Linked DNA regions of Homo sapiens: regions 1 and 2 are each linked to region 3. Evidence: promoter capture Hi-C in 16 types of primary human blood cells and fetal thymus (Javierre and others, 2016). All regions are on one chromosome and are shown on one strand. The core of a region is centred on a gene start or on the middle of the fragment in contact, and the rest is flanking DNA. Distances in the headings are between cores, read along the strand shown. Region 1 overlaps CERS4 (ceramide synthase 4). Region 2 holds the start of HNRNPM (heterogeneous nuclear ribonucleoprotein M). Region 3 holds the start of TIMM44 (translocase of inner mitochondrial membrane 44).

Region 1 (3,376 bases), core at 853-3,352, 300 kb after region 3:
CCTCTCACCTCAGCCTCCTGAGTAGCCGGGATTACAGGTGTGTGTCACTATGCCCACCTAATTTTTAAATTTTTTTGTCTTGCTATGTTGCCCTGGCTGGTCTCGAACTCCTGACCTTAAGCAATCCTCCCACTTCGGCCTCTCAAAGTGCTGGGTGTGAGCCACTGCACTCGGTCCTCTAAATTTTACTAGGTGCTCACTCCACCTCAGGTGCCATTCCGAACCACTCCATGTGGAAGAGGGGCTATTGTTTGTTCCATTTTACAGATAAAACTGAGGCACAGATAGGCCACGTTCCATGCCTGGTAAACGGGTGAGGCAGGAATCAGGAATCAGATCCGTTGTGATATCAGCATGGAGTGTTTATAAACTGCCCGCCTGCCCTGAGCCTCACAATAGCCTGGTAGAACAAGGAGGGAATCTAGCTGTACCCATTTTTCAGATGGGACAACTGAGGCCCAGGAAGACAGAGGATGACAGGGAACAAACAGAAGAACTGGATCCAAAAGAGAAAAGCTAGAAATTGAGGAACACATCCCTCAGCCTCATTTCCTCCCTTCCCTCAGGAGAAGTTGAGCCTTGCTGGCCTGAGGTGCCTGGTTATAGCCATGCCTGAGCCCCTCCCATATGCCAGACTCTGCCTCAATGCCCCAGGTGCAAGGTCTCTGAGCTGCTTAACCACCCTTCAGGGAGGGCACCTGTCCCACCAACAGGTGACGAAATTGAGGCTCCCAGGGCTTTGAAGCATTGCAGCTAGGACTCCAGCCAGTCTGCTGGGCTCCAGACCCTGTTCTTTTCTCAAACCACAGCATCTTTTATTTATGCTTTAAGAGGGAGAAGAGGGAAGGGACGAGACAGAGACAGGTTGGTGAGGTTAGTGAGAGAGTAGGACCTCTGGGGCCAGACCTCTGCAATCAGGGCATATCAGTCTGAAGCCTCCTTGGAGAGCTCCCTGGTTTAGAAAGTGCATCTGTTCCCCTTTCTGTGCCACTCAGGAAGCAATGGGCATGATTCAGCAGAGGAGAGGAGAGTTTAGAACTGGTTATGCTTCCTTCTCCAACCCTCCCTGCAAAAACACTGGCCAGCTCCTGACATCACAGTAAGACAGGGTTGCGGGAGGGTGCTTTAACAGGATCCAAAGCAGGGCAATTGGGCTGCTTTCAGGAGGAGGTGACAACTGAGCTGGGTTTTGAAGGATGCATAGGAGTTTGCCAAACAGAGAAAGAAAGCGTTTAAGCTCTTCAGGGCAGAGATGTTGCTTGTTTTCCCCACCATTTTGTGTCTTCAGCACCCAAATACTAAATGAGCATTCTAGGCAGAGGCCAGTATTTGTAAAGGCTAGGATGTGTGAAACGATATGGTCTGGTGGGAGCAGAGTATCAGTCAGTAAACTGGTGGGCATTGAAGCTGGGCACATCAGCAGAGGCAAGGCTTGAGATTGTGAGAAGCCATTGCTCCTGTGGTTCTCCCTCATCCCCTACACTCATCATGACTTGAATGTACCAAGGTGTGCAAGGATGCATCCAAGACCCTTGGGTGAGGGGAAAACATGGAGCTGGGGGTCTGGATGCCTGGGCCTTCCTAGGACACCTAGTCCCCTTCCATCTGCACCTTGGGGTCTGTCAGAAAGGTAGCAGGGTCTCTGAGAAAGCTGCACCAGTGACTCAGAAGGCTGAGGTGGGAGGATGGCTTGAACCCAGGAGTTTGAGGCTGCAGTGAGCTATGATCAGGCCAGTGCACTCCAGTCTGGGTGACAAAGTGAGACCCTGTCTCTAAAAAAAAAAAAAAAAAAAAAAAAAAAAATAGGGGATTGCAGATACCCTGCAGTGGTCATGGCTTTGGCTGTGAGAGCTGAGTACAGTTGGGACCAAGAGTGCCAAGCTGGCCATGTGTCCTTGAGCCCCCACGGGCACACGGGATCAAGCCAACCTTGTCTGCTAGTGAAGATGATTTCTTTTTCTTGAGAAATCAACCACCTGGGCTGAAGTCCCCACATCCACCCAGCTGTTCATGTGTCTACTCTGTCTGGGATGCCTGGGCCTCGTTGTAGGTCTAGACTAGCTGCTATCCCACACCCTTGACTGCTTGTTGGGTCACTGACTTCTAGTGCCCCTCCCCAACCAGAGTATCCAATGCTAGCAACAGCTTCTAATACTTCACTGATGCCTAAATGTCAGTTGCCCCATAGCATGGTACTTAGCCTGCCCCTTCATGTGCAGTCTCTTCCTTTTTTTTTTTTTTCCCCCAAAACAGGGTCTTGTTGACCCCTTGCTGATAGATAGAGGATTCCATCCATCTTCATGGATTTCAACAGCAGCCACTCACTGACAAGTCCTACCCAGGCCCCACCCACCCCAAGCCTGTGCCCCAAACCTGAGTAGCTCCTGCCTCCTCCACACGCCCACGGGAACATTTTAGCTGCCCTCCCCCACACCCACAATTTGTGTTGTCTGACACTTAGCCTGACTCCTGTCCTGAAATCAGCTCATCCATTCTGGTTCATCCAGTTCTTCAGACTGGAAGGCTGACAGCTTCAGTGGCCAAGTGGGGTGAGGCTGAAGATGGAATTAAGGTTGTTAATCAGCTGAGCTTGAGATGGGAGATCATCTGGGTGAACCCAGTGTCATCACAAGGGTCTTAAAATGAAGAAGACGGAGGCAGGAGAGACACTGTCAGAATGACAAGGTGGGAGAAAGACCCAACTAGCCACTGCTGGCTCTGAAGATGGAGGAAGGGACCAGGAGCTGGAGGGTGCAGGCAGCCTCTAAAGCCAGAAAAGGCAGGAAATGGCTGGGTGTGGTGGCTGGAGCCTGTAGTCCCAGCTACTCGGGAGGCTGAGGCAGGAAGATGGCTTGAGCCCAGGAGATCGAGGCTGCAGTGAGCTATGATTGCACCGCTGCATTCCAGCCTGGAAGACAGAGTGAGAGATTGCCTCCCTGCAGAAAATGTAGTCTCTTAGCAATTTTCCAGTATATACTATATTATTAACTAAAATCATCATGATGTACAGATCTCTTGGACTTACTACTGCTGCTAACTGAAATGTCATATCCTTTGACCAATATCTTGCCAATTTCCTCTCCCAACCCTTCTCTTTTCTGGCTCCACTTTGGAAAGCATTTGGCTCTTGGGGGGCCCCACCTCTAAAATGTCTCTGGAATCCCCTTATCTCTACCTTATCTCAACTGGACATGCCAGAGCACCCTCTTCTGGCCTCCAAAATGCTACGCCCTGCATGGCAACCAACACCTGAGAATCCCTGCATTATTCAAAATAGAACCAAGGGCAACGGAACCCTCACATTCTCCTGCTGGGAGTGTAAGATGGTGCAGTCCTGCCTTGGAAAGCAGTTTGCCCACCTTGGCCTCCCAAAGTG
Region 2 (3,428 bases), core at 189-2,688, 500 kb after region 3:
AATGCACACAAAAATAAGACCATACAGCATTATGCCTAGTACAGAATACACCCTGAATTCTGTCACAGTTCACTTTATGCAACATTGCAAGAGTCCTCTCGCTCTTTATTATTATTTTTAATTTTTTTGAGATGGGGTCTCACTCTGTGACCAGGCTGGAGTGCAGTGGCCCGATCTTGGCTCACTGCAACCTCCTCCTCCTGGGTTGAAGCGATTCTCCTGCCTCAGGCTCCCCAGTAGCTGGGATTATGGGCGCCTGCCACCACACCCGGCTAATTTTTGTATTTTTAGTAGAGACAGGGTTTCATCATGTTGGCCAGGATGGTCTGATCTCTTGACCTCGTGATCCACCCGCCTTGGCCTCTCAAAGTGGTAGGATTACAGGCGTGAGCTGCCGCGCCCAGCCATTAATTTTTTTTTTAATTTTGTTTTTAACTTTTAGGTTTGGGGGTAAATGTGAAGGTTTGTTAAATAGGTAAACACTTGTCATGGAGGTTTGTTGTACAGATTATTTCATCACCCAGGTATTAAGCCCAGTACTCAATACTTATCTTTTTGTTTTTTGAGATGGAGTCTCAGTCTATCTCCCAGGCTGCGGTGCAGTGGCGTGATCTCGGCTCACTGCAACCTCCGGCTCCTGGGTTCAAGCGATTCTCCTGCTTCAGCCTCCCGAGTAGCTGGGATTACAGGCGCCCGCCACCACGTCCAGCTAATTTTTTTATTTTTAGTAGAGACGCGGTTTCACCATGTTGGCCAGTCTGGTCTCGAACTCCTGACCTCAGGTGATCCGCCGCCTCGGCCTCCCATACCCAAAGTGCTGGGATTACAGGAGTGAGCCATCGCGCCTGGCCCCATTATTAGTGAATTTTAACAGTTTTCCGTTTCTTCTGGACGAACTGTTTGCAATTATAATGCGAATTACGGATAATACTCTGATATTATTCCATGCCGTTCCGTTGTTGCCTACAAAGTTCGCGCTGGAGAACCGCGCAATTGCGTTACAAAAAGAAAAAAATCACACAAAAAGACACAATGTTTTAAGAAAGTTTACGAATCGTGTGCCGGACCGCGGGTTGAACAAGCTTCATCTAAAACTTCCAGGAATCTCTAGACAGGATCATTGCTTCCCCTCTGCTCCAGCTCTGGTTACAGAAAGCTGAGAGTGACTAGGTCTAGGTGTTTGTGTGGGGTGGGGTGGGGAGATGCCTCCTCTATCGGACTCAGAGGACGCGCGCCGGGAACAGCCAGTCGGTGCCTAACGCGAGTGTATCTCGAGAGAGAAGCGATCAACAGCTGCCGGTCTGCGCCTGCGCGCGGCGGGGGCGTGGCCCGGGGCGAGTGGGGCCAAGGAGGCAGCCGGGAGCGGCGGGCGCAGGTGTTACTGGTTGCGTCGGGTCACGTGGGCGCGCAGGCGCAGCGCGGTGCAGCCCGTTCGCTCACACAAAGCCCAGACGCGGAGAAAATGGCGGCAGGGGTCGAAGCGGCGGCGGAGGTGGCGGCGACGGAGATCAAAATGGAGGAAGAGAGCGGCGCGCCCGGCGTGCCGAGCGGCAACGGGGCTCCGGGCCCTAAGGGGTGAGTATCCCACGGTCCTTTGCCACGGGTAAGGGTTCCTCTCCGCGGCCGACGCGGGCGGCGGCTCCGTTAGGTCTGTTGGCGGCCTAGCCCCGGCGCGGCCTCGGCCCCGGCTGTTCCCGTACCGCCTGCTCAGGGTAGCGGCGTCTAGGGCCGTGAGCGGGGAGCCGGGGGAGCCTCCAGAATCGTCCCCTACACCGGGCCTCGAGCCTCGCCACCCTCAGTCCCTCCAGGCCGGGGCCAACCCCGTAGTCGAGGCCTCAGGCCCAGCTGCTGCGCATGGGGGTTGATGGCGCGGGCCCGGACCGGAGAGCCTCCGAGGCCTACCCGACCGCTCCCCGGGAGGGTGACCTCGGGGGCCGGGTTTCAGCCCCCCGTCCCCTCTCCTCCCGGGGTCTGTTTTCTGATCCGTAACGTGGGGGGAGGAGAGAGGGTGCGCGCCCGGGAGGCCTCGCGCGCAGTCAGCCCGAGTCAACGGTAACCGAGCGAGGGAAGCGTCAGGAAGGGCCGCGAAGCCGGGTCGGGGGGCTCCCCTCCTGCCCCGCCCCTTAGTCCCCGCGCGCCGACCGCGCTCCGCGGGAAGTGCCTCCCTCGGAACCGCCCCTCGCCCCACGCTCTGGCCCTGGCTCAAGTCCCTCGCCGTTTCCCGCTCCTCCTCCCCGGGTGCGCCGCAGGTATTAGTGGAGAGATGGGATCTGCTGCTTAGCGTTCACCCTCGGAAGCAGACAGATACGAAGTCGGGGGAGGAATCCCCTTTTTCCCGTGTTTCGGGGAAGCTGTTCTGTCAGGAGGCGGGTTCATTTACTTCCAGACTTCATCAGCTTTTCGAGTCCTGCTTGGGGCTCTTTGACTCCTTGGCTTTTAAAAGTTTCTTTAAAGGAGGAAGCATCGACTTGTGCCCCGGTGAAACTCATTCATTCTGATTACAGACACTTAAGAGAGACAGAGAGGTTTTGGCTCCAAGATCAGCGGCCGGGAAGGAAGGGGAAGCCTGGGTACACATTGAATTTCCCAGACATTTATTTCATTGTGGTAAAATAGACATAACGTAGACTTTGCCATTTTAACCATTTTTTAAGCGTATAATTCAGTGGCATTGAGTATACTGACTCAGTGTGCTGTAACCGTCACTGCTTCATGTCCAGAACTTTTTCATCATCGGAAACAGAAAGTGTAGCTATTAAATACTAACTCCCTCCGTTTTCTTTCCTTTCTGTCTGTGACTTTGCCTTCCTCATATTGTAATGTGTGAAGCTTAGTTTATGGAGATTAAAAGTGAATGCGGTTGAGCACTTATATATTTAATTTTTTTCTTTGAGACAGGGTCTCCCTCTGTTACCCAAGCTGGGATGCAGTGGCACGATCACAGATCACTGCAGCCTCGAACTCCTGGGCTCAATCGATCCTTCCATCTCAGCCTCCTGAGTAGCTGGGATCACAGGCGCGGCACCACCATGCCCGGCTAATTTTTTGAAGAGAGGAGGTCTCCGGGTGTTGCCCAGGCTGGTCTGAAACTCCTGGGTTCAAGCCATCCTCCTGCCTAGGCCTTCCAAAGTGCTGAAGTTACAGGCATGAGCTACTGCGCCCTGCCTAGTTGAGCGCTTAGGTTAAGAACGTTCCCTAAGTGCTAGCTATATTGGTAGATAATAAATCCGGAGAAAATTCCAGATTCTTTCCCTCCTTAAGTAGGGAGAAATAAAATACCATGGTTACTGGCCCTTAGAAATGAGAAAAACTTCCTCTATTCCCAGCATTTTACTATTGAAAACTCTGGGAAGGAATGTGTTAATTTTGACTTTTTCAGCGTCTATCTACGGAAGCTGGTAGGATTTCTGAGGGTGGTATTTGGAGGG
Region 3 (3,362 bases), core at 311-2,810:
TGGGAGGCTGAGGTGGGAGGATCACCCGGTCAGGAGTTCGAGATCAGCCTGGCCAACATGGTGAAATCCCGTCTCTACCAAAAATACAAAAATTAGCCGGGCGTGGTGGCACACACCTGTAGTCCCACACACCTGTAGTATTGCTTAAACCCGGGAGGTGGAGGGTGCAGTGAGCCGAGATCTTGCCTTAAGTTCTGTGCAGGCACTGAGCTGGTGGCTCATGCCTGTAATCCCGATACTTTGGGAGGCTGAGGCGGAAGGATCGTTTGAGCTCAGGAGTTTGAGACCAGCCTGGGCAACATAGCTAGACCCTGCCTCCATAAAAAATTGGGGGAAAAAAAAAAAGCTCTGTGCAGGTCCTGTTCAGCTCGGCACCCTGTCACCCAGCACAGAACCTGGCGTGTTGATGTCAAAAGACCAGGTACAACTTCTCCACCATTTCCACATTTCCTGGGCCGTTTTTCTCTCTGTTCTCTGCCTCCTACCTCTGAGAACCCTATGCAACATCCCAAACTTACACAGGTGCCTACTATCTCCTGTATTTACTTGAGGATAACTTTTTTTTTTTTTTTTGAGACGGAGTCTCCCTCTGTTGCCCAGGCTGGAGTAAAGTGGCAGGATCTCGGCTCACTGCAATCTCCGCCTGCCGGGTTCAAGTGATTCTCCTGCCTCAGCCTCCCAAGTAGTTGGGATTACAGGAGCGCGCCACCATGCCCGGCTAATTTTTTTGTATTTTTAGTACAGATGGGGTTTTAGTAGAGATGGGATTTCACCATGTGGGCCAGTGGATCTCGAACTCCTGACCTCAGGTGATCCACCTGAGGCTGAGGCAGGAGAATCGCTTGAACCCGGAGGCAGAAGGAGGCAGAAGTTGCAGTGAGCCGAGATCGCGCCATTGCACTCCAGACTGGGCGACAAGAGCGAAACTCTGTCTCAAAAAAAAAAAAAAAAGAGAAAAAAGAAAAAACGAAGAGCACGAGCAATATGAAGTACTACTTTCTGAGTGCGCCTTACACGTCTTGACTGCCACTGCCCTGTGGACCCAAGAGCCTGCTAGGGCGCGAACCACCTCTCGCACATCCACAATGAACGTTAGAAGAAACGAGACAAGAAATGCTCTCGGTAGAGAACTTGGCATTTAACCGCGAGCTGTGAATTTCACGTTTTTTTGCCTTCCCCTCTACTTTTTTCCACGGGACGCCGCCGCCCCGGCTACCATTCTCTCTCCTGTATACGTGGAGTCTGATCAGAGGGCGAAGGGTGATCAGCTCCCTCCCAGGTCCCGCGCATCGCCGCCCCCTGCCCGGTAAGCTCGGTCCCCGCCCTCAGGCCACGCTCTGTGCCCCCTGTCCTGGCCTCTGCTACCCAAAGATCTAACCCCAAGCTTTCTAAGGAGCCCAAGCAAGGGTCGCGAAGGCCAAGGGTCTGAGAAGAAAGCCTTGGTGGCCGAAGGCCCAGAAGACCCCTAAGCTCGCCCTGCCAGCGCCGCACCGCCGCTCACCCGTGGACAGCGGCACCAGCCACTCCGCAGGGCCGCCGCCGCCATGTTGGAGAATCGTGTGACCTTCTCGCGGCGCGGCCCGGTTGCGTCATCCGCCGCTTCGGCCTAGAGCCGCGCAAGCCTGAGAAAAGCCGCTCCAGGAGCGGGGTTTCGGGTAGGGAGAGCCCTCCGATTGGGTCCGTCATAGGGCGGGGCATTAAAAGGGTAGGGAATGCCTAGAGAGCTTGACCTCTGATAGGGCAGTGTTTTGGAAGGACGGGGCCCGTGACTGGATGTGGCCCGGGGGAGGGCACTCCTGGGAGGGTCAGATCTGTGATTGGGCGCGACTACGAGGGGGCGGAGCCCAGGGGCGTGTATTCCGTCACTTGCGGTGATTCGGCTACAGAACGCGCCGGGCGCTGGTGGCAGGTGGTACAGGCACGTGGATCCACCGACCACAAGGACGGATTCGATTGGATTCTGATTGACCGGCGGACCAGCTCCAGAGTAATTGTCTATGGCTGCCCCTGCAATGACTGATTGATTGACAATGGCTGAGAGACCAGCAAGTGAGTCGCTCCGAGAAAGCGAAGGAGCCCACTCTTGTGCGGCGCTTTGGGAAGACGCCTGTTGGTTTTGACCCCGAATAAGAAGAGGAAGCTGAGAGCGGGCTGACTGTGGTCCAGTCCTACTTCGATTCAGTGTGAACTGACACTCTGATCTGAAGACGCTCAGGCCTTTGTCATTTCAGCACCCCAGATGCTATTTTCCATTCGAAGAATGCCGCCACCAGGTGGCGGTATTTTAACATGGCCATGCAATCCGGGTATGAGGAGGAGGGTTGGTCCCCTGGGAGAGCTAATGTATGTTGCTGTTGCTGTTTGTCTTATTGGATCCTTTTTTTTTTTTATAGAGCCAGAGGCTTGCTCTGTCACCCAGGCTAGAGTGCAGTGTCGTAATCTAGCTCACTGCAGCCTCCAATTCCCAAGCTCAAGCGATCCTCCTGCCTCAGCCTCTGAGTCACTGGGATTACAGGCGTGAGCTACCGCACCCGGTCTTTTTGCATTACTAACCTGTGATATGGGTTTATGGGACTTCATTATTTCAAAGGGAGGCAGCTTGGCCCCGGAGAGCATGCATTCCTGGCTTCTGCGATGGATAGACTTGTGTTCTCCATCTCAGGAGCTCCCCCTCAAGGTGGGGGTAAGAGATGAGGGCTTCCACTCTGGCTTTGTTCGAGATGTCTTGATGCCAAGAGGAGCAAACTAGTTAAGCGGTTGGTGTACACAGGTGTGTTGCTAAGAATAAGGTCTGGGCTAGAAATATGGATTCTTAGTTGTGGTTGAAAGTACGGAGTTTGGCCGGGCGCGGTGGCTCATGCCTATAATCCCAGCACTTTGGGACACTGAGGCGGGAGGATCTCTCCAGCCCAAGAGTTTGAGACCAGCCTGGGCAACATAGTGAAGACCTCTTCTTTACAACAAATACAAAACATTAGCTTGGCGTGGTAGCATGTGCTTGTAGTCCCAGCTACTCAGGAGGCTGAGATGGGAGGATCGTTGAGGCCCGGGAAGTTAAGGCTGTAGTGAGCCGTGATCGTGCCACTACACTACACTACACTACACTACACTACCTGGGCAACAGAGAGAGACCTTGTGTCAAAAAAAAAGAAGAAGAAAGAAAGAGAGAGAGAGAAAGGAAAGAAAGAAAACTACAGCATTGGACACTCAGAGGCAGTGTGTCATATAAGCATGTCAAAGACCCAAAGATAAAGTGGAGATAGAAGACTCCTTTAAGCCAGGATCCGTGGCTCAGTCCTATTATCCCAGCAACTCAGGAGCCTGAGGCAGGAGCATCATTTGAGCCCAGGAGTTACAGACCA

What was found. Contacts are between HindIII fragments. The CHiCAGO score rates a contact against its expected background, and 5 or more counts as called.
Region 1: a fragment that was not itself captured here is called in contact with the fragment with the promoter of TIMM44 in region 3 in 2 of 17 cell types (endothelial precursors and erythroblasts); the score reaches 6.2 in endothelial precursors.
Region 2: the fragment with the promoter of HNRNPM here is called in contact with the fragment with the promoter of TIMM44 in region 3 in 5 of 17 cell types (naive CD4 T cells, fetal thymus, non-activated CD4 T cells and 2 more); the score reaches 6.8 in naive CD4 T cells.

What each region holds. Positions count from the first base shown.
Region 1 is chr19:8,241,421-8,244,796 of GRCh38, forward strand. The region is part of intron 2 of CERS4 (ceramide synthase 4); the gene reads left to right. Among named protein-coding and RNA genes, the nearest start is that of CERS4, 34 kb to the left of the region's middle. The HindIII fragment of the contact is 4,736 bases long and covers 1-3,376 here.
Region 2 is chr19:8,443,537-8,446,964 of GRCh38, forward strand. HNRNPM (heterogeneous nuclear ribonucleoprotein M) reads left to right here and starts at 1,439. Exons shown (of 16, transcript NM_005968.5): 1 at 1,439-1,575. The coding sequence starts at 1,463. RefSeq lists silencers at 1,198-1,477, 1,718-1,947. The HindIII fragment of the contact is 1,747 bases long and covers 1,081-2,827 here.
Region 3 is chr19:7,942,106-7,945,467 of GRCh38, forward strand. TIMM44 (translocase of inner mitochondrial membrane 44) reads right to left here and starts at 1,561. Exons shown (of 13, transcript NM_006351.4): 1 at 1,502-1,561. The coding sequence starts at 1,546. RefSeq lists enhancers at 582-1,125, 1,126-1,668, 1,295-1,664, 1,669-2,212, 2,213-2,755 and a silencer at 1,695-1,764. The HindIII fragment of the contact is 5,893 bases long and covers 1,383-3,362 here.